Regions from separate parts of the Homo sapiens genome. Here all the other regions are linked to region 5. Evidence: promoter capture Hi-C in 16 types of primary human blood cells and fetal thymus (Javierre and others, 2016). All regions are on one chromosome and are shown on one strand. The core of a region is centred on a gene start or on the middle of the fragment in contact, and the rest is flanking DNA. Distances in the headings are between cores, read along the strand shown.

Region 1 (3,006 bases), core at 231-2,730, 460 kb before region 5:
TACCAATCTCGCCCCTACCCACTGTGCGTTGGTTGCCTTTAAAGCAACTAAATAACTCTGGCTGCCACCTTGAGCTGGTAATTGAAGCTGGCTTTTAAGCCCTTGTGCACTCTACTCTTCTCTCACTACTCTGGGCTGTCTCATCCCCAAAGCTTCCCTATTCAATGCCCAGTGCCTCTCACACTCCTCCTCGAACCCTGCCCTAAGGCCCATGATGATTTTGGCCTTTACCTGACTGGGTCCACCACAGATGGTGTTAAGATAATCATATTCAGATGGCCCTGCTGCTAATGGCCCTGCTGCTAATTAGCTGTGTGAACTAGGTAAGTCACTTGCCCACCTTGGGCACATTAAAGAGGCAACTGTCCTTGAAAGCTCCTTGTGGCTCCACCATTAAAATATACTGCTCTGTGGTAAAGATAGATTAGCCCGCAAGTCCTGCTGTTGTCCTTTGCTATGTCCTTGACCAAATCATTTATCATTTTGTACAGATTCCTTATCTATATAAAAGGATAAGTCCTACCTCCAAGGATGTAAAAATTAGATGATATATATAAAGTTTTGTATGTGCACACAATAGGCACTGGAAAATGGAAGCTGTTACCTATCTCTGACAGTTGTGTGTGCTACTACTTACCAGTTCCATGAGTATATTTCATGTTCCTCTTAAATGCTTATTAACCTTATCTAAGCTCACACAGAAAACCTTTGTGAAATTCAGGGTTTTTATAGACCTTAGGTTAAGAGGTCTGAATTCCAACTCTGTAAATGTAAGTTACAAAATGCAGGGAGACATACTAAACTAGGACTCATATTGGCCTCACAGGTCTAAGCTCTTTATATTGACAGAGTAGGAAATAAATAAATCCAGAAGTGGAGGACATGAATAGTAGAATTAACTATATCCCTGCCAGGTCATCCAATCTGCAGTCGTAGTCTGTTTCCTAAGCCATCAGCTTATCTACCTCTACCAAGTCTTTGCTAAGACAAGTTTTTCAGAGAGTTGAAGGCGGCATAATCTATATTTTTCTGAATCTCCTCTAGATTATACACCCCACGGCTTTTAAGTACTTTCTATGTAATATATTAAATCCTATCTTACGAGTTTCCTCTTGGCTCAGCGTGGTGGCTCACGCCTGTAATCCCAGCATTTTGGGAGGCCGAGGCAGGAGGATCGCTTGAGCCCAGGAGTTTGAGACCAGCCCTGGCAACCCAGCAAGACCTCCATCTCTACAAAAAATTTTAAAAAGTGGCCAAGCCAAGTGGTGTGTGCCTGTAGTCCCAGCTACATGGGAGGCTGAGGTGGGAGGATCACTTGAGCCTGGGAGGTCAAGGCTGCAGTGAGCTGTGATGGTACCAATGCACTCCAGCCTGGGCGGTAGGGCAAGACCTTGTCTCAAAAAAGACAAAAAACAACCTCAGGCTATTGTTTTGTTTTTAAAAAGAGCTGCTGCTTACCTGATTTTGTCCAAGTTGAGAGTCCTCTGTGAGGGAAGACTCCAGCTGAGACAGACTGGGTGATGACGCTGAATCTGCAGAGGTGCTGGTGACCAATTCCCCTAAAGCATCTACTTGTCTCCTCAAACTGTGTAAAGTGCCCTCTGTCTGCCGCTTTCCTTTAATTAATACTTCTGCTTGCTTGGACATACAGTGTCGGAGTTGGGCCTGAAAAGTGTGATAAGACTTAGGGTTTTACACAGAAGAAATGTACCAGAACTGCCGCTCAGCTTCCTCACATACATTTGATAGGCAAATCTGGCTAACAGTAGGAATGGCTGTCAAAAATGCTCATCTTTAAAAAGAATTGTAGGAGGTGCCAGGTGGATACTTAGTGTGCATAAACCTTTACTTTTCTGTGTTGTCATTAACGGGGTCTTTCACTTGGCCCAGTTTTTCCATGCTAGCAGTGCTTAGGATTTCTGTATCCCTTGCTTCTCCATTAAATTATTGCCTCATCTCTTTTTTCCTTTTCTGTTATGACTGAGAAGATCAGTTTATACTTGACAACTGGAGTGTCTCCTGATTATGTATTTTTTCCTAAGTCTTAGTTTCTTGTCTATAAATGATTAGGTATTTAATCCTCAACTTCATACTACTTTTTGGCTTTTGCCCCTGCTATAATCAAATTATTCTCTCAAAGTCTATAGCAGCGCTGTCCAACAGAACTTTCTGCAATGATGGGAATGTTCTACCTCTGGCTATAAATATAGAAGCCACTAGACACATGTGGCTATTAAGCACTTGAAATGTGGCAAATGAATAACTGAATTTTTAACTTAATTATAATTTATTAAAATTTAAATAACCACACATGGCTGGAGACTATTGTTGGACATCACAGGGCTCCACTCAATACTATAGCACTGCACTCTCTCATCCCATGCTGTCTACATAGCCATTCCCCCCACATAAATGTAACCTCCCACCTATACTCTTAACTCTCAAATCTTTAGGTCAACACTGATCAGTAATCCTAGACTCCTATTTTTGGCTGCCTACAGACAGATATCCTTCCCTGGATATCTCACAAGGCCTTCAAAGTCAACATGTTCTGAGCCAAACAATTCCTTACCTGACATTCAGCCTACTTTTCCAGTATCCCAAATCTTTCCTGCCACCACTGGCCTATGATAACCTTACAGTTCATCACTGTGTTTCTACTTCCTCTCCCAAATACTTAGATTCTATCGGTTCTAGCTGAGGTAAAGCAGCATTACATAGGTTAAAGAACACTGGAGTCAACACAAGAAGTCATGGTTTTGAACACTGATTGCCATTTACTGTGTGACACCAACTCCTCGAAGCTTCAGACATGCCATCCCTGACACTGCTGGCAGGGCTGCAACAGCATGGATGTGAAAGCATCAGGTAAATGTAACTTTCCCCTCCCCTCCCCAATGTGCCCAGTATCTCATACTGATTTTTTGTTTGTTTTAAAGGGCAACCTTGAGTCGGTCTTCCCGGTGACGCAGTTTCTCCCGGAGTGCTTCTCCACGCCAGTGTTCA
Region 2 (2,931 bases), core at 381-2,880, 380 kb before region 5:
CACAGCTGACACTAAGTTGACACTATCTAAGGATCAACTACTTCAGGAATATTTATGGCAAATTTTAGATCTATGGCTACCTCTTCCCATCATCCCATAGCATCAACAGCCCCAAGGTGATGCTGTACAACATGGGGTTGGGCTTGGGCTCTGAGGCTCTTGACTGTCACAGGATGAAATTAGAAAGCATAGGTATTGTTAACAACATGGCATTAAATGAATATTGCTTATTATTATTGGCCTCCACTGGTGAAGGCTTAAAGAATATAGCTTTAGACTTATTTAGTGTTTTAAAGTTTTTTTTAAAGCATTTTCACATCTATCATTTCATCTGAGCCCCCATAATACCCCTGTAAAGGAGGCAGTATAGGGATTGTTTTCCCCAAACAGTGGTTTTAGAGGGATTAAAGAATTCTCCAAGGTCATGGAAGGCAATTCTATAGAGGCCCATCTTTGAAGTCACATCTTTCATTTTCTATTCTACAACTGATGTTCATTAAATTATGGCACAATTTTCCCAATTTTAATACAAATTTAAATAAATTAACAAATTTACTAAGCAAATGCTTATTAAATACCTAGCTGTGAATAAATACCATAAGAAAATCATAAACTATATTCCAGAGAAAAATATACAACATCATCCAAATATGTAAATCATAACAAAGTTGCTCTATTATGAAAAGCTAGTGATCAACCTCCTATAACACCTAACATTATAATCAAAATAAACTGGTAAATTTGAAATTGGAAGTTAATACTGTCAAAAAAAAAAAAACCCAGAACTTTCTTCTAGGCATTCAGTGATCTGGATCCTGGCACAAAATGTGACTCTAGATAAGGGACTTAACCTGTCCTAGACCTTACTTGCTACTACCTAACTCATAGTGTTACAAAAATAATCCTTGTACTGCCTTCTTAACAAGAATGTTATGAGGCTTACATGAAATGATAAATGTAAAAATGCTAAGAGGTCAACCCTAGGTTGACCTAGGAACCCATGCAAAATGAGGACTGCTTGTATTTAATTAATCTAGAAAATCATGGGCTATGTCTGAATCTAGTGTTTAGTCAAAGGAGCAAAATCTTTAAAAGAAGAAATCCCATTTTTAAAAAACTTAGATATTTTTAATCTTTTATTTTTTAACAAGTCTAAAAATTCCTGCTATTTTGAATAACTTACCGATGATATCTTGTTGCCTTTCAAATTGAGGACTCGCAAAGATTTTAACTTCTTCCCTAACCATACTGGAATATGCTCAATTTCATTTCCTGCAAGGTTAAGCTTTTGCAGATTACACATATTTTCTATGCCTTCAATTTTGCTGGAAAGCAAAGGATAAAATAAAATTTAGTGAGTACAATTATAGAGTCTCTCCATTGTATTTTTAGAATAAACAGCTTTAGCTCCATGTTAGATTACTTTTCATAATGATAATTTATCAACTCTTTTCATAAATGAGAACAAAGAAAAGTGGCTAAAGCCAAATTTACCAGAACAGCTAAACTGCCAACTTTTTATTACTATGCCCAGGAATCCTATCAATCTTATTATTAGACTTTGCAACTCCATAACATAGAAAAGAAAAATGTGACCATGGCATTCTCACCGACTACTGTGAACAGTACTAGCAAACAGCCAGTGGAGACCTGGGAAACTCAATAGCACCCTGTCCTATCTGCTACATTCCTGTCCAAAAGATGTTCCTAATTATTGTCTTAAGTTATCATAAAAAGATTAGCTATGCCAGCAGGATATGGGAGCCCATAGATGATACTGTATTTAGGAATATAAGTAATTTAACCAGAACTTTTAAATAAAGCATTTATCACACATATTAATGAATTCTGATTGATGAAGGTTTTTCCCAAGTCACTTCTAATTTATTTGTCAATTTAATTCTTTGGTCAATTTTCTATACTGCACAAATACTTCAAAGCCTCTATCTACACTGGGTAAATATTTCTAAGCTTCTCTACTTTCAATTTTATTTTGCTGAAAATATTTTCATCAGAGTCAACTTTTTATACAAATTTTATAATAAGGGTTTGGTTCATTAATCATTTTTTTTCATTTCAGTTTTGTCATATCAGAACTTCTGCCATTGCTAGTCATTTTCTTGGCCATCATATTTACCAAGTCTAACTTGGGGGAAAAGCATGCAGATATTAAGAATTTCAAGATTTGATTCTTGTATCATTTTGTCTATAACAAGTTTTCTATATGAAGTTTTAGCCAGTGTCAGTTTTAGTATGTTTATTTCTCACAGTAATATATATTATGAATTGGAAACAGGATTGAGAGCATATTTCTTGTAGCAATAAGCAAAGAACATCAGAATCAAAACAGATTAGAACATCTTGGGGGTCAAAATGGCAGGGTTAAAACATTCTGCTTCATGTCAACATTCTTAATGTAATAAGGTAATAAATCACAGACAATATCTGGGAAAACTTCCTGTCAGAAATGAAATTAAGATACAATTTGGTGCTCAAAAATATATCTCTTTGATAATGCTAGATGTTATTCTGTACTTCAGTAATGCCAAAACATAAAGACAGTTACCTACCATATGTGAAGAGACAGACATTCATTTGATTGATGAATAAAGATAAAAATATCTTCTGTTTCTGTCAAATCATTCTTTCAGTAATGTGGATAACATTAATCTACCTCTCTAACAAAGCTATCTGCAATGCTGCCTAAAGATTTTGTTATATAACTCACCTGATTTTGTTATATGATAAGTTGAGTTCACGTAATTTTAACAGCTTGTCCAACTTTTCAATCTTCCCTATTAGATTATAGCTGAGATTCAGTACTTCAAGTTTAACACATTTTTCCAAATTCTCAATATACTAATTGGAAACAAATGAATGAATACTTTACACAACAGATGACTTGACATAAAGTACAACATTTACTTATGT
Region 3 (3,098 bases), core at 413-2,912, 410 kb before region 5:
TGCAAATAAACTAGAAAATCTAGAAGAAATGGATAAATTCCTGGACACATACACCCTCCCAAGACTAAACCAGGAAGAAGTTGAATCTCTGAATAGACCAATAACAGGATCTGAAATTGAGGCAATAATTAATAGCCTACCAACCAAAAAAACTCCAGGACCAGATGGATTCACAGCTGAATTCTACCAGAGGTACAAAGAGGAGCTGGTACCATTCCTTCTGAAACTCTTCCAATGAATAGAAAAAGAGGGAATCCTAACTCATTTTATGAGGCCAGCATCATCCTGATACCAAAGCCTGGCAGAGACACAACAAAAAAAGAGAATTTTAGACCAATATCCCTGATGAATATCGATGTGAAAATCCTCAATAAAATACTGGCAAACCGAATCCAGCAGCACATCAAAAAGCTTATCCACCACGATCAAGTCGGCTTCATCCCTGGGATGCAAGGCTGGTTCAACATACACAAATCAATAAACATAATCCATCACATAAACAGAACTAATGACAAAAACCACATGATATCTCAATAGATGCAGAAAAGGCCTTCAACAAACTTCAATTGCCCTTCATGCTAAAAACTGTCAATAAACTAGGTATTGATGGCACGTATCTCAAAATAATAAGAGCTATTTATGACAAACCCACAGCCAATATCATACTGAATGGGCAAAAACTGGAAGCATTCCCTTTGAAAACTGGCACAAGACAGGGATGCCCTCTCTCACCACTCCTATTCAACATAGTGTTGGAAGTTCCGGCCAGGGCAATCAGAAAAGAGAAAGAAATAAAGGGTATTCAATTAGGAAAAGAGGAAGTCAAATTGTCTCAGTTTGCAGATGACATGATTGTATATTTAGAAAACCCCATCGTCTCAGCCAAAATCTCCTTAAGCTGATATGCAACTTCAGCAAAGTCTCAGGATACAAAAATCAATGTGCAAAAATCACATGCATTCCTATACACCAATAATAGACAGAGAGCCAAATCGTGAGTGAACTCCCATTCACAATTGCTACAAAGAGAGTAAAATACCTAGGAATCCAACTTACAAGGGATGTGAAGGACGTCTTCAAGAACTACAAACCACAGCTCAACAAAATAAAAGAGGACACAAACAAATGGAAGAACATTCCATGCTCATGGGTAGGAAGAATCAATACCGTGAAAATGGCCATACTGCCCAAGGTAATTTATAGATTCAATGCCATTCCCATCAAGCTACCAATGACTTTCTTCACAGAGTTCGAAAAAACTACTTTAAAGTTCATATGGAACCAAAAAAGAGCCTGCATTGCCAAGACAATCCTAAGCAAAAAGAACAAAGCTGGAGGCATCACGCTACCTGACTTTAAACTATACTACAAGGCTACAGTAAACAAAACAACATGGTACTGGTACCAAAACAGATATATAGACCAATGGAACAGAACAGAGACTGCAGAAATAAATAACACCACACATCTACAACCATCTGATCTTTGACAAACCTGACAAAAACAAGAAATGGGGAAAGGATCACTAATAAATGGTGCTGGGAAAACTGGCTAGCCATATGTAGAAAGCTGAAACTGGATCTCTTCCTTACACCTTATACAAAAATTAATTCAAGATAGATTAAAGACTTACATGTTAGACCTAAAACCATAAAAATCCTAGAAGAAAACCTAGGCAATACTATTCAGGACATAGGCATGGGCAAGGACTTCATGACTAAAACACCAAAAGCAATGGCAACAAAAGCCAAAATAGACAAATGGGATCTAATTAAACCAAAGAGCTTCTGCACAGCAAAAGAAACTACCATCAGAGTGAACAGGCAACCTACAGAATGGGAGAAAATTTTTGCAATCTGCTCATCTGACAAAGGGCTAATATCCAGAATCTACAAAGAACTTAAACAAATTTACAAGAAAAAAACAACCCCATCAAAAAGGGGGCAAAGGATACGAATAGACATTTCTCAAAAGAAGACATTTATGCAGCCAACAGACACATGAAAAAATGCTCATCATCACTGGCCATCAGAGAAATGCAAATCAAAACCACAATGAGATACCATTTCACACCAGTTAGAATGGTGATCATTAAAAAGTCAGGAAACAACAGATGCTGGAGAGGATGTGGAGAAACAGGAATGCTTTTACACTGTTGGTGGGAGTGTAAACTAGTTCAACCTTTGTGGAAGACAATGTGGCGATTCCTCAAGGATCTAGAACTAGAAATACCATTTGACCCAGCGATCCCATTACTGGGTATATACCCAAAGGATTATAAATCATGCTACTATAAAGACACATGCACACATGTGTTTATTGCGGCACTATTCATAATAGCAAAAACTTGGAACCAACCCAAATGTCCATCAACGATAGACTGGATTAAGAAAATGCAGCACATATAAACCATGGAATACTATGCAGCCATAAAAAAGGATGAGTTCATGTCCTTTGCAGGGACATGGATGCAGCTGGAAACCATCATTCTTTGCAAACTATCACAAGGACAGAAAACCAAACACCGCATGTTCTCACTCATAGGTAGGAACTGAATAATGAGAACACTTGGACACAGGGCAGGGAACATCACACACCGGGGCCTGTCGTGGGGTGGGGGGAGGGGGGAGGGATAGCATTAGGAGATATACCTAATGTAAATGACGAGTTAATGGGTGCAGCAAACCAACGTGAAACATGTATACCTATGTAACAAATCTGCATGTACCCTAGAACTTAAAGTATAATAATAATTAAAAAGTATATAAAATCATGTAGAAATTACATATGAGGAGATAAAGCAAATGTGTTAAAATAGTAATTGGTGACTCTCGGTGAAAGGCAAATGTGAGTTATTTGTATTCCTCTTGCAACTTTCCTGCAAGTTTGGAGTTATTTCAAAATATAAGCTTTAAAAAAAAGTTGGACAACACTACAGCGTTGGCAAGGATGTGGCAAGAATGGTAGCCCCCACATTGCTGGTGGGAGTAGAAGCTGATAAACTCACTATGAAAAGTAATTTGACAATATCTACTGAACTTAATGAAGGATGGACATACTCTGACCCACAGTTCTGCTTCTGAGCATAGTCCCCATGT
Region 4 (3,027 bases), core at 16-2,515, 440 kb before region 5:
CAGGCAAGGAGTGCAAGGGTGAAATGCCTAATGAAAACCTTGAGCTCACATACTTAAAACCACTCAAATCACAGTGATCACAGTAAGAACAACAATATGATAATCATGATCATCCCTCAGGTTACAGTTTTCCAAGAACTTTTATTTTTATACCCTAATTCCATTTTGACATCCTTGGTGATGGAAGTTAGTCAGAGATTTTTAAAATGTATTCATTTTTAAAATTAAAAATTCGTTGCAATTTTAAAGACAATACGTATTTGTTTACAAAAAAAAAAGAAGACCATGCAGATATGCAAAAGGAAGACAACAGAAAATACTCAAAATCCCCCCTTATCAGATGACCACTTTTGTACTTTGGTATTGACTAAAAATACAACCATAAGTGTTGATAAAGGCATTTAACAGAAATGATCTCATAGAGTATACCATGTTTTGAGACCCACTTTTTTTATTCAGAAGTATTGTATTGAGTTGGGATTCAAATTTAGTTCAGACTTCATGCTTAACAACTATAATACATAGCCGCATTTATTCTTTTCTACAATTAAACATGTATTACTTTTATAATCATAAAGTGCTGTGTCAGTTGTTTTTTCAAGGTGTCTATTGCCATACCTGGCTTTTCAGCTTTTCCAGCTCGGCTCTTTTGGCCTGAAGAAGCACCTCAGATTCTTTAAGGACCTGCAGGTGGTGATCCTCATTGCGTTCTGCCATCTCTATGTCTTTCTGTAGTTTCTGAAGCCTACAAAGCACCAGCAACACTAGAGCAGATCCTAAGGGACTCGGAACCCCAGAGCTGTCTTCCAGCACAAACCCCTTGTAGCCCTACAGAGGCCTTACTTACTCTTCTGTCAGTTTTTCCTTCTTCTTGCTTAAACATTGGAAGTCTGAGTCTTTTGCTGCTACAATTTTGTTTATTTCTTTCAAGATTTCTTCTTGCTTGATTTTGTGCTGCTCCAAATCCTTTGCATCAGCCTGGAGCGATCTAAAGCACATTGCTTTATTCCCCCCAGGTCCTGTAGACTTACCATGCATTATTTATCATAAACCAATTATTATCCCCTTAGAAGCAAACTTTTCATTCATCTCAATGTATACATCAACGGCTTAGGGAATCCACCTACCTTAGCTGCTGATCAGCTTTGACGAGGTTAACAGCAGTTTCCTGAGCTCTCCTTTCTAATTCCTCAGCATCTGACTCAGTTTGCAATAAACTTCTCTTGGCATCAGTGAACTTTTCAACAGCATTTTTTGTCTAGAAAAGAAACTGTCATTAAAAGCCATTCAGTTACAATACTCACTCACAGCTACTGGCCATGTAAACCAGTACAGCTCTTTTGGAAAACAAGATGGTACAGAAAGACATAAAAATGTCCATTCACTGTAACTCTAATTCTCGGTAAATAATTCAGAAGCAAAGAACTACTATATAAAAATGCTCAATGTATAATAATATAAGACCTGACAAATAATAATAGGCTAAGTGATAATGCATTAACAAAGTGGAATACTGTGTAGCCTTTCAAATGATCAGATGACAATGTAGCAACACGGAAGAATGTTAATATTATGTTGGCTGAGAAAAATAAATTTAAAATGGTATAAGCACTGTGAGAGCAACTGTGTAAAACTACATGTGTCAACAAAGACAGAAAGACTATATAAAAATAAATACAGTCATTTGAAAGTAGTGGAACTAAAGATGCTTTTTATTTCAAAATAATCTGTAATACTATTATATCATTTTAAATATTAAAACTATCTACCCAACTAAGTGGGAAGGAAGTGATTTTACCAAGATTTCCTCCACACAGAAATTCTTGCTGCACTCTATAGTTATTATCAAGCGAAGTAAAAATGCATTGATCTGGTGATAATGTAATTACGGCTGACAAACACAAACATTAAATACTTTGCAAATGTTTAAAATCTTCCTATATAAGATTTGGTAAAAACACATTTGTTTTAATCAACTTGGTTTCTTTTTCTGCCTAACATAAGATGCTTAAAACAATGACATCAAAAGTTCCAAAAATAAATAGAGTGTGGTTTGCACTTGGTTGAGCAGTGACTCACCTTCAGCCAAAAAAAACTGAAGTCTGCCATTGTACTAAAGCCAGAGGAGTCCGTATGTTAAATTTGCCTATTAAATATCTGTGTGGATGCAAAAGGGTTGGCAAGCTCCCAGAGAGCTACATATTTTACCATACGTCTTTCCATTTCAGATAGCTTGTTTCTGTCAGTTTCACCAGCAAAGCACTGGATAAAACTGGCTATGCATTCCAGAAAAGCCACCAAATAGTTTTTTGTCTCCTTCTATGTCAGGTTTTAACATGTCTGGCACACTCCTTCCAAAACACCACTACTTTCTCTCTCCTCCTCCTTCTTACCAAGCTGCCTCCCTGAGTCATTTTGGGAGGATGAAGGTGAAAGAACTTACCAGCCTTGGTTGACTTACTACCTCTGCCTACTACCACTGCCATCAATTTTCTTTTGATGATTTTATATATCTATACCTATATATATTAATATATAACCAAAATATACCAAAATTTATAATCAAAATATACCAGTGATATTTTGATATATTATCAAAATATCTTATTATATATTATTATACCAGTGATTTTTTTTCCTCTAGTTCTGCTCACATCTATTTTCTCTCACAGTAATCCAACATATGACAACAGAAGGAACAGCTCATCTGAAAAGGACTTTTTCCATTCTTAATTACTCACAGAATTTCTTTAATAAATAATTTAGTTCCTAGGTAATAGACTGCTTTTAATTTAAATAGATTCATGTTGAAATAGCAAAATACAAATAATAGTTCCTGAGGTGTTTCATGTGGGTAAGGAACTCTTTTCATCCTGGAATTCTCATCTAACTAAAAGAGCCCTTGGCTATGTGACTCTGGGCCAGTAATGAGCCTCTCTGAGCTACATCAGTAAACCAAGCTAACATCATCTACACAGGGCTGCCAGGAAGGTTAAATGAAACATTTACAAAATGGCCATGTGTAGC
Region 5 (2,702 bases), core at 47-2,546:
GTGGGGCTTGAATTAAGCCCCATCAGATGACAAACCCGCCCTGCCTGGCTTCCTCTGGAAGCTGCTGAGCCGAAGCAGCAGCGCCTGACCTAGCTCTGGATCCTGGGCGGATGATGCGAGGCTGCGTGCCCGAATTCCAGCTTGATTCAGGGTTTAGTGTCATCCAGGGTCAAGCTCGGCTATTAGCCCCACCCCAACCCCTGCAACCAGCCGGAGGCTCTGGGGGCACTGAAGGGCTGTGGCCTGGGGCTGCTTTCTAATCCTGGGCTTGCCCTGGCGCAAATGCTGAGAATAGTTAGCATTAATGAGGGTTACAACAGTGGGCCAGGCTCTGGGCTAAGCCCTTTACGTCCATGACTTAATTCTCACAACAGCTCTGTGAGGGGGGTGGGGGGTGAGGGGTGTCCTATCATCTCCATTTTAGTGGTGAAAAAACCGCGCTCAGGCCACAAAACCATTCAGCAAAAGACATCAAGTTGAGGTTCAACCCTGTCTGATCCTATTCTTCCCGGGGTTTAGGTAAGTGTGCTTGCGAGCCTGTCTCCTCCACGCAGGAAGCTTGCACCTTCTGCCCTCAGGGGTCTCCACCGCCCGGTCCCGCCCCCTTGTCCAGTCTGGCACAACACCTGGCCCACAGCAGGTTTCTGGTGAGGGCGTGGGTCTCGGTTCAGGGAGGCCCTCAGCAAGGGCCTCAGCTTCCCCATCTCTGAAATGGGAATGGCGGCAGAGACCTCGCAAGGCTGCGACCAGGCTCTCTGGAGCAGCAGAGGGCATGCCAAGCTCTACATCGTCGCTGCCGCTGCCCTCTCCCATCGCGGGGTTCCCGCGCGGTCCCCGCCCGAGCTGGGGTGCGGCGCTGGCGCCCCATTGTTCAGGAGGGCGGGGATGCTCCCGAGTGCTGATTCCACCCCCCGCTCGTGCTCGCAGCCCGGTGGAGCAGATGACTAGGCCCGGCGTCTGCCGCGCGGGGCGCATCCTTTGTCTGCTCCGCGGCGCCCGGTGCCCGAGGCCCGCGCCCCACTCTTTGGGCAGACAAAGCCGGGGCCGCCGCGAGCCCGGCGGGCTAGAGCTGGGCTCGCACCACCCTTCTCCCGCCTCACGGACCGCCCCCTCTCCTGGACGTCCTCTGATTGGCCTACGGGGCTACAAAGAGGCCGGGAAGCGGGCGGATCACGTGGGCGACTGTGGCTTCCCATTGGTTAGGCGCGGCTGCCAATCGAGGAGGGCGGGCGGTCCGCGCTCGGTCCGGTCGCTCCCTCCGCGCTGGGGCCCGCCCGCGGGGCCGGCCGCCTGTCAGAGGGAGGTGGCGATGGTGCGCCCGGTGGCGGTGGCGGCGGCGGTTGCGGAGGCTTCCTTGGTCGGATTGCAACGAGGAGAAGATGACTGACCAACCGACTGGCTGAATGAATGAATGGCGGAGCCGAGCGCGCCATGAGGAGCCTGCCGAGCCTGGGCGGCCTCGCCCTGTTGTGCTGCGCCGCCGCCGCCGCCGCCGCCGCCGTCGCCTCAGCCGCCTCGGCGGGGAATGTCACCGGTGGCGGCGGGGCCGCGGGGCAGGTGGACGCGTCGCCGGGCCCCGGGTTGCGGGGCGAGCCCAGCCACCCCTTCCCTAGGGCGACGGCTCCCACGGCCCAGGCCCCGAGGACCGGGCCCCCGCGCGCCACCGTCCACCGACCCCTGGCTGCGACTTCTCCAGCCCAGTCCCCGGAGACCACCCCTCTTTGGGCGACTGCTGGACCCTCTTCCACCACCTTTCAGGCGCCGCTCGGCCCCTCGCCGACCACCCCTCCGGCGGCGGAACGCACTTCGACCACCTCTCAGGCGCCGACCAGACCCGCGCCGACCACCCTTTCGACGACCACTGGCCCGGCGCCGACCACCCCTGTAGCGACCACCGTACCGGCGCCCACGACTCCCCGGACCCCGACCCCCGATCTCCCCAGCAGCAGCAACAGCAGCGTCCTCCCCACCCCACCTGCCACCGAGGCCCCCTCTTCGCCTCCTCCAGGTGAGTCCGGCGCTCCCTCTCGGGCAGGACCCGTCCTCACCTCAGCCCCGGCAATCTAGGGTTGGGCTCTTGCCTATAATTTATCGTTTGTTACCCCAAAGACACCCCAGGTTCCGGCTCCCGAGGGGGGATCCCAGGTCCAGCTAGTCTCCCTCCCGCCCCCGATCAATCTGGAAAGTCTTTTGTCCCCCGTGGGCTGTGCTCCCTCGGGAGGGGGTGGCTGCTGGGTGGAAGGCATCTCATCTTCTTCCCAACAGGGCTTTCTGGCCTTTTTCAGAGACCAGAATGGGCGCAAACTTTTGGGTTGGGTTCGCGCACCCAGCCTCTCTGCCTGGGTTATTTGGGGAAGTTTGAAAGCCCGCATAGTACCTCCTTCAACCACTGGGTCAAAAGCTGAGGGTAAGGAATTCCTCCCAAAGCTCCAGTTTCCCTGTTCATTTCTTCTTGTTTATGTAAATATCAGATGTGTGTGTATGACAGGTGGAAGAGAGGTAGTGAGAGGATTTTGTTTACAAACAGTAGTATGGACCACTTGAGGGCAAAAAATAAAAACAAAAAAGGCATTGTAATCCATGTTGTCCCTGCAAATAAGTGGATTCAGTAGGTCATTTGGGACAGGTGTGTATCTAGGCTGAGCACATTTACAAATTAGGTTAAATCTCTTCCTCGCACCATTTTTTTCTTCCACAATTAT
Region 6 (3,109 bases), core at 256-2,755, 500 kb before region 5:
GACCTAAGTCAAATCCAGCGCCATGTTGGGTCTAGTTGGTCTTAGCCAGCTTGACCCACACCCTGGTTTTTCAGGGTCTTCTCAGCCCCTAGCTTCTGCAGCTGTTTAAACAGTTCCCTTTTGCTAGTCATATAAAACTGCTGCCTGGAATGTGCTGTTCTCCTGTGTCAACGCTGTATCATTCCTGTCTCAATGCTATCAGGAAGGCTTTGGTAAAAATCCCTTAACTTGGTGGTGTGCTGTGGCTCCCCTCTGTAATCCCACACCTTGGGAAGCCAAGGCAGGAGGATCACTTGAGCCTAGGAGTTCAAGACCAGCCTGGGCAACATGGTGAGACTAGTCTCTATTTAAAAAAAAAAAAAAAAAATCCCCTAACTTGAACCTTCTGGTATTTGGTGTGTTTTGGGGAACTGAGTCAGGAGACCGGGTAAAGAGAAGCAGCAAGCGCAGCAGCAGCAGACACAGAGCCCTGGCAGAACTGCCCGGCCAGAGGAGTTGGCCCCCACCAGGTGGATCTGTCCATCAAGGAAGCATCCTCAGGACTCTGAGAAACATCAAGGAAGTGAAACTGAATAAAGATATTGGACTTCAGGTGTCATGCAGGATGGATGCTTGGACAAAACTGGTAGGGTAACCTCCAAATACCAGATCATTTCAGGACCCTGGGAGATGAATATTATTGTCCTCCATTTTACATACAAGAAAAATGAAACTTGTGAAAGTTGCCAGTACCAAAATGGAGTCACTTAGGCTAAACTCTCACAAAATGGAGAGGGGAGGCCATGAAGGAAGGGTCCTCATGCATGTATGCCTACAACAGAAACTATCCAAGAAATTCCACATAAGCCACCTGGCTTGCACAGGGACATTTGTCCAACAGTGGCTGTCTCCACCAATAAGCTAATGCCAACTCCTGCAACAAGCTCCTGTAACCAATGGTCTTTTTTTCAAATTAGCTTACATGTACGTTTCCTCCTTTCTTTATTTTTTTTGAGACAGAGACTCACTCTGTTACCTAGGCTGGAGTGCAGTGGTGCGTTATCGGCTTACTGCAACCTCCGCCTCCCGAGTTCAAGTGATTCTCGTGACTCAGCCTCCTGAGTAGCTGCAATTATGGGTACACGTCATGATGCCTGGTTCATTTTTGTATTTTTAGTAGTTACAGGGTTTTGCCATATTGGCCAGGCTGGTCTTGAACCCCTGACCTCCAGTGATCCACCTGCCTCAGCCTCCCAAAGCACTGGGATTACAGGCATGAGCCACCGAGCCTGGCCTCTCGTCCTTTCTCTTAAAAGCTTCCTCTTGCCCCATCCCCTTTGGTGCACCTGTGGTCCACCACAGCATGTGCACCCAAAATCGCAATTCCCTGTTATTCTCAAATAAACTCTTTGTTTTGGAGAACTGGTCTCTCTGCTGTTTATTTCAGGTTGACAGACCTAAAATATAATACAATATTAAATGACTGCCAGACAATTCATAGCAGACCTATACTCCATGACCACCCTTCTTAAGAGCTCAACAAATGTTCTGAACATGCTTAGTCATAGCTAAACTGTGAGTCAGGGCATGAGGTAGACTGGACACATACATAAAAAGAATGAATAAGATCAGGATATGCAAAACAATATGGACAATTTGATCGTACTTATGTAAAAGAGAAAACACACACCAAAGTTATATCTTTATGTATGTACCCTTATATACGCAAAAGCTTGAAACAGACCTGGTAGCAGTATTAACGGTTGGGTAGAAAAGAGCAGAGAAAGGAGGGCTTGTTTTGTTTGAGGTTATAATAATAATAATAATAATAATAATAATAATAATAATACATTTCTATATTATTTGAAATATTTAAAAATTTAATTAAATTTAAAAAATTTAAAGAAATGGCTGTTGTGGGCTGAATTGTGCCACTCAGCCACATCCCAATTGAATTGAAGTCCTAACCCCCAGTACCTCAGAATGTGACTGTATTTAGAGACAGGGTCTTTAATGAGGTAATTAAATTAAAATGAGGTCACTAGGGTGGGCCCTAATCCAATATGAATGGTATCTTTATAAGAAAAGGAGATTAGGGGCCTATTGGAGGGTTTAGGTTGGGAGGAGGGAGTGGCTCAGGAAAAAGAACTAATGGGTACTAGGCTTAATACCTGGGTGACAAAATAATCTGTACAACAAACCCCCAGGACAGAAGTTTGCTTCTGTAACAAATCTGCACAGGTACTCCTGAACTTAAAATAAAAGTTATTTTTTTTTTTTTTGAGACGGAGTTTTGCCCTGTTGCCCAGGCTGGAGTGCAATGGTGCGATCTTGGCTCACTGCAATCTCCGCCTCCCAGGTTCAAATGATTCTCCTGCCTCAGCCTCCTGAGTAGCTGGGATTACAGGTGCCCACCACCACACCCAGCTAATTTTTTTTTGTATTTTTAGTAGAAACAGGGTTTCACCATGTTGGCCAGGCTGGTCTCGTGATCCACCCTGACCTTGTGATCCACCCGCCTTGGCCTCACAAAGTGCTGGGATTATAGGCGTGAGCCAATGTGCCCAGCCAAAGTTGAATTTTAAAAAAGAAATCTCCTTAAGTTAGAAAAATACTTTAAAAATCTAAATAAAGTGGAAGACAAAACCCAGAACTAAAAAAAGAAGAGGAAATTAGGATGCAGACACAAACAGAGGGAAGACCATGTGAAGACACAGGAAGAAGACAGTCATCCACAAGCCAAGGAAGAAACCAACCCTCAGAAGAATGCAACGCTTGGACATCTTGATCTTGGACTTGTAGCCTCCAGAATAAAATAATTTTCTGTTGTTTAAGCCACTGAGCCTGTACTATTTGTTACGGCAGTCCTAGCAAACTAATACAATGACCAAGGTAAAATTCCTGTCTTCCAGGAACTCCTAGCCTAGTGGGAGAAGTGGGTAATAGAATAATCTCACTATAATACCAAGAAAACAGGGAGAAGTCCTGCAAAATACAGAAGCAAGGTACTACGGAACCTGGGGGTAGGAGGATATTACAAGGCCTGGCAGGCATCACAGAGGAAGTGGCTTTTGAGCTGGGCCATGAAGGATAAGAAACAGAGAAAAGCAGGCAGGTAGGAGAGTTAGGG
Region 7 (2,831 bases), core at 121-2,620, 480 kb before region 5:
ACCCCATTTTAAAATACATTTTTCACCTTAACAGTGGTGAAAATGGTGGTGAAAAATGGTATATTTTCACAGTGGTGAAATGGTATGTTTCCCCAGTGGTGAAAACTGGTATGTTTCATGTTCAGGAGATGAGGTTGAGAAATCCTTTATTAAAGCAATATTAAGCATATTAATATTTTTAAGGAGTCAGTTGAATACATGGCACAGTTGTTAGTGTTTACTATGCATTTAGTAAATATTTCTCTTGGCAGCAAGGGTAGTTTATAGCTAAATTTTACATGCACTAATATCCTTCCTCTTTCTCTGATTTTTATTTTATCAGTCTACCTGTACATACCTGAAATAAGCTAATAATACCTTAGAGAAAATCATGGTCTTTGGAATCAGGCCTGGGTTCAAGTTCTAGGTCTACCATTTACAAACTTTATAACATTGGCCAAATGAGTGAATTTCTCCAAACCTCAGTTTCTTTAATTTTTTGCATGGACATAATGATAATGACTCTGCAGAGTTGTGAGAATTAAGTAAGAATTATAAAAAGTAGTATAGATCATTACATGGTTTACTCTCAAGTGTTCTCAAGAAACTTTTTCTAAGTAAATGAATTATAGTATTATAAGTTAGTATTACTAGTATTACCAGTCATTTATATCTATAAATTCTGACTGCAGTGCATCCTCTGAATGTAATTCATGTATCTTATTCAGAATATTAAATTATAATTAAGCGAGTGAATACTGCAGAGCTACATGGTACAGCTGATAACCATGTGGAGGAGGCACGACGGTGGAGAGGGCAGGATGGTGTGGTGGTTAAGAGGGGATCTCTGTAGTTAAAACAGTCCTAGGTTCAGTACAGACTTGGCTGTGTGACCTGGGCATGTTACCTCTTGAGTCTGTGTCCTCATCTGTAAAATGAGGATAATAATTAACTATGTTATAGGATAGTAGTAAGGATTAAATGAAATTGTATGTAAAATATTTAGCACATTGCCCGGCATATGTCAAGTACCCAATAAATAGTAACTCACAATTGTATTTCTTATTAGTTTGCAAATTGTTGATTATGTGTTAAATGCCTGTTGTCTAAATATGTGGTACTTTTTTTCCTTTAAAGGCAATAAAGATCTTTTACTTACATATGAACTTGATTCGAATACTTTCTGTAAAATGTGGAATAAAGTGAATTTTAATTGTCCCGGTAGTTGTATACAAGTTATAGAATATTACCAGGATTTTTTTTTTCATTTATGGGGATTGTAATGTTAAGTGGGCTCATGTTTTCAGAGTTTGAACCAGACCAGCATTTCCTGTCCTTTTTTTTAGACTCAAGAGTTCTCTAAGTAAAGCAAAAGTACTGTTAAATAATAGGGGAAGAATTTTTTCCCTTCCAAAGTTAGGTAAAAATATATTCCTCACCTTAACAATAGTATGTTTCATGTTCAAGAAATGAGACTGAGAAATCTTTTGTTAAAGCAACATTAAGCCTATTTAGTATTGAATATAATTCTACTGCAAATACTTTTGACTGAAATGTATTAATATCAGTCAACTATGGGAATATATTTAAATCTAGACAGTATCTTCTTAGAATAAGAAAGGGAAGACCTGTTGTGAGTGTTGGTGGCTACAGTGTTAAATGTTTTCTGCCTTTGTTTACTGAAATTAGTAAGTTTGAGTAGTTTTCCTTTAATTCTGCTTTTATGGTTTTTATTTGTAATTTTTAAAGAAACGAGCAAGAAAAATGTGTGGTGTGGTGAGACAGAGCCCTGGTATTAAATCCGAAATAGTGATCATTTCTTTTATTTGGAAATAGTTTCTACTATATGAATGTTTGTAATTTTAAGATACATTTTCAAAATTAGTTATCTCACATTTAATGAATGTATGATAATTAGCAGGTACACAAATTAGTACAACTAAAATTGGGTCACAATTTTATGATAGTCTTTAAAGCATTTGAAGTAGAAATTTGGGATTGTTAGAAGTCATAGCTTTAACATAAAATAGAAGGAGCAAAGTATGTACAGCTACAACCTTTAGTTAGAAGAGGGAAAGAAATTAGGAAAATCAAGGGAGAAGAGCACAGAAGAGACAGTAATTTGAAGGTGACTAAGTGATTACTTTTACCCAGGTTTGAATGGGGAAAGAATTTAGAAGAATTAAAAATTGATTAGAAGAGTCGGAAGAATTCAAGTTAAGAAGTTAATAATCTTTAAATATTTTTAATGTAAGAGATTACTTTTCCCCCTTGTGTTTGGCATCTGGTTCAGAGATCAGGTAAATAATCCAGACCAGTTTTAGTCTCAGGACCAAGTTCATTCTTAAAAGTTTTGAGTTCCTAGTGCCTGGAAAAGGGAATAAAGTTGTTGTGATGTTCAGAATCAGTTAATCTAACTAGAAAAACTCCCTTTCCTGAAAGAACTGGTTAAGGGAGTTTTCTGTGATGCAGGAGACTGATTATAAATGTGTTAGAACATGCCAAACTGGAATGGGTAACAAGGCTTCTACTTTCACTAAATGTAATACAGATAGCTAAGTGAGAAGACTGTAGTGTGTGGAAGTGATTAATACTTTACTGTAATTAACAACTTCCTCTTCCCTTATAATAATACACTTGTTTTAAATATATATTCTTTCTACGGGTTCAATGTTGTTATATAGAACTTTTGCTTGAAATATGGTATATAGTAAGGTGATAATTTCAGTAAATAAATTTCTCCAGTCATATTAAATGTCTGGCTTGTGTAATGTGACATTGACAGAAACACTAAAAGCCAGGCTTAAAAATACTGTAAGTCAGATTTTTTTAAATGGGTGAAATCTTTATAT

The links. Contacts are between HindIII fragments. The CHiCAGO score rates a contact against its expected background, and 5 or more counts as called.
Region 1: a fragment that was not itself captured here is called in contact with the fragment with the promoter of MEGF9 in region 5 in 6 of 17 cell types (total CD8 T cells, naive CD8 T cells, monocytes and 3 more); the score reaches 7.6 in total CD8 T cells.
Region 2: a fragment that was not itself captured here is called in contact with the fragment with the promoter of MEGF9 in region 5 in 8 of 17 cell types (monocytes, naive CD8 T cells, naive CD4 T cells and 5 more); the score reaches 8.0 in monocytes.
Region 3: a contact is called between a fragment that was not itself captured here and the fragment with the promoter of MEGF9 in region 5, in 6 of 17 cell types (total CD4 T cells, total CD8 T cells, monocytes and 3 more). The highest score is 7.2, in total CD4 T cells.
Region 4: a contact is called between a fragment that was not itself captured here and the fragment with the promoter of MEGF9 in region 5, in 6 of 17 cell types (monocytes, naive CD4 T cells, total CD8 T cells and 3 more). The highest score is 12.5, in monocytes.
Region 6: a contact is called between a fragment that was not itself captured here and the fragment with the promoter of MEGF9 in region 5, in 4 of 17 cell types (total CD4 T cells, non-activated CD4 T cells, activated CD4 T cells and 1 more). The highest score is 5.8, in total CD4 T cells.
Region 7: a contact is called between a fragment that was not itself captured here and the fragment with the promoter of MEGF9 in region 5, in 11 of 17 cell types (monocytes, naive CD8 T cells, total CD8 T cells and 8 more). The highest score is 12.8, in monocytes.

The regions. Positions count from the first base shown.
Region 1 is chr9:121,173,677-121,176,682 of GRCh38, reverse strand. CNTRL (centriolin) reads right to left here. Exons shown (of 44, transcript NM_007018.6): 42 at 2,946-3,006; 43 at 1,459-1,665. It also overlaps the pseudogene LOC124902357. Among named protein-coding and RNA genes, the nearest start is that of RAB14, 27 kb to the left of the region's middle. The HindIII fragment of the contact is 2,652 bases long and covers 155-2,806 here.
Region 2 is chr9:121,094,816-121,097,746 of GRCh38, reverse strand. It overlaps CNTRL (centriolin), which reads right to left. Exons shown (of 44, transcript NM_007018.6): 5 at 2,729-2,859; 6 at 1,184-1,325. Among named protein-coding and RNA genes, the nearest start is that of CNTRL, 21 kb to the right of the region's middle. The HindIII fragment of the contact is 686 bases long and covers 1,288-1,973 here.
Region 3 is chr9:121,127,319-121,130,416 of GRCh38, reverse strand. All of the region lies in intron 14 of CNTRL (centriolin), which reads right to left. Among named protein-coding and RNA genes, the nearest start is that of CNTRL, 54 kb to the right of the region's middle. The HindIII fragment of the contact is 2,498 bases long and covers 414-2,911 here.
Region 4 is chr9:121,155,701-121,158,727 of GRCh38, reverse strand. CNTRL (centriolin) reads right to left here. Exons shown (of 44, transcript NM_007018.6): 28 at 1,128-1,258; 29 at 848-988; 30 at 619-745. Among named protein-coding and RNA genes, the nearest start is that of RAB14, 45 kb to the left of the region's middle. The HindIII fragment of the contact is 9,656 bases long and covers 1-3,027 here.
Region 5 is chr9:120,713,064-120,715,765 of GRCh38, reverse strand. MEGF9 (multiple EGF like domains 9) reads left to right here and starts at 1,296. Exons shown (of 6, transcript NM_001080497.3): 1 at 1,296-2,008. The coding sequence starts at 1,408. RefSeq lists a silencer at 759-1,608. The HindIII fragment of the contact is 2,825 bases long and covers 561-2,702 here.
Region 6 is chr9:121,216,518-121,219,626 of GRCh38, reverse strand. It overlaps a transcript of GSN not described here. Among named protein-coding and RNA genes, the nearest start is that of RAB14, 16 kb to the right of the region's middle. The HindIII fragment of the contact is 416 bases long and covers 1,298-1,713 here.
Region 7 is chr9:121,194,597-121,197,427 of GRCh38, reverse strand. All of the region lies in intron 1 of RAB14 (RAB14, member RAS oncogene family), which reads left to right. Among named protein-coding and RNA genes, the nearest start is that of RAB14, 5.9 kb to the left of the region's middle. The HindIII fragment of the contact is 3,446 bases long and covers 1-2,831 here.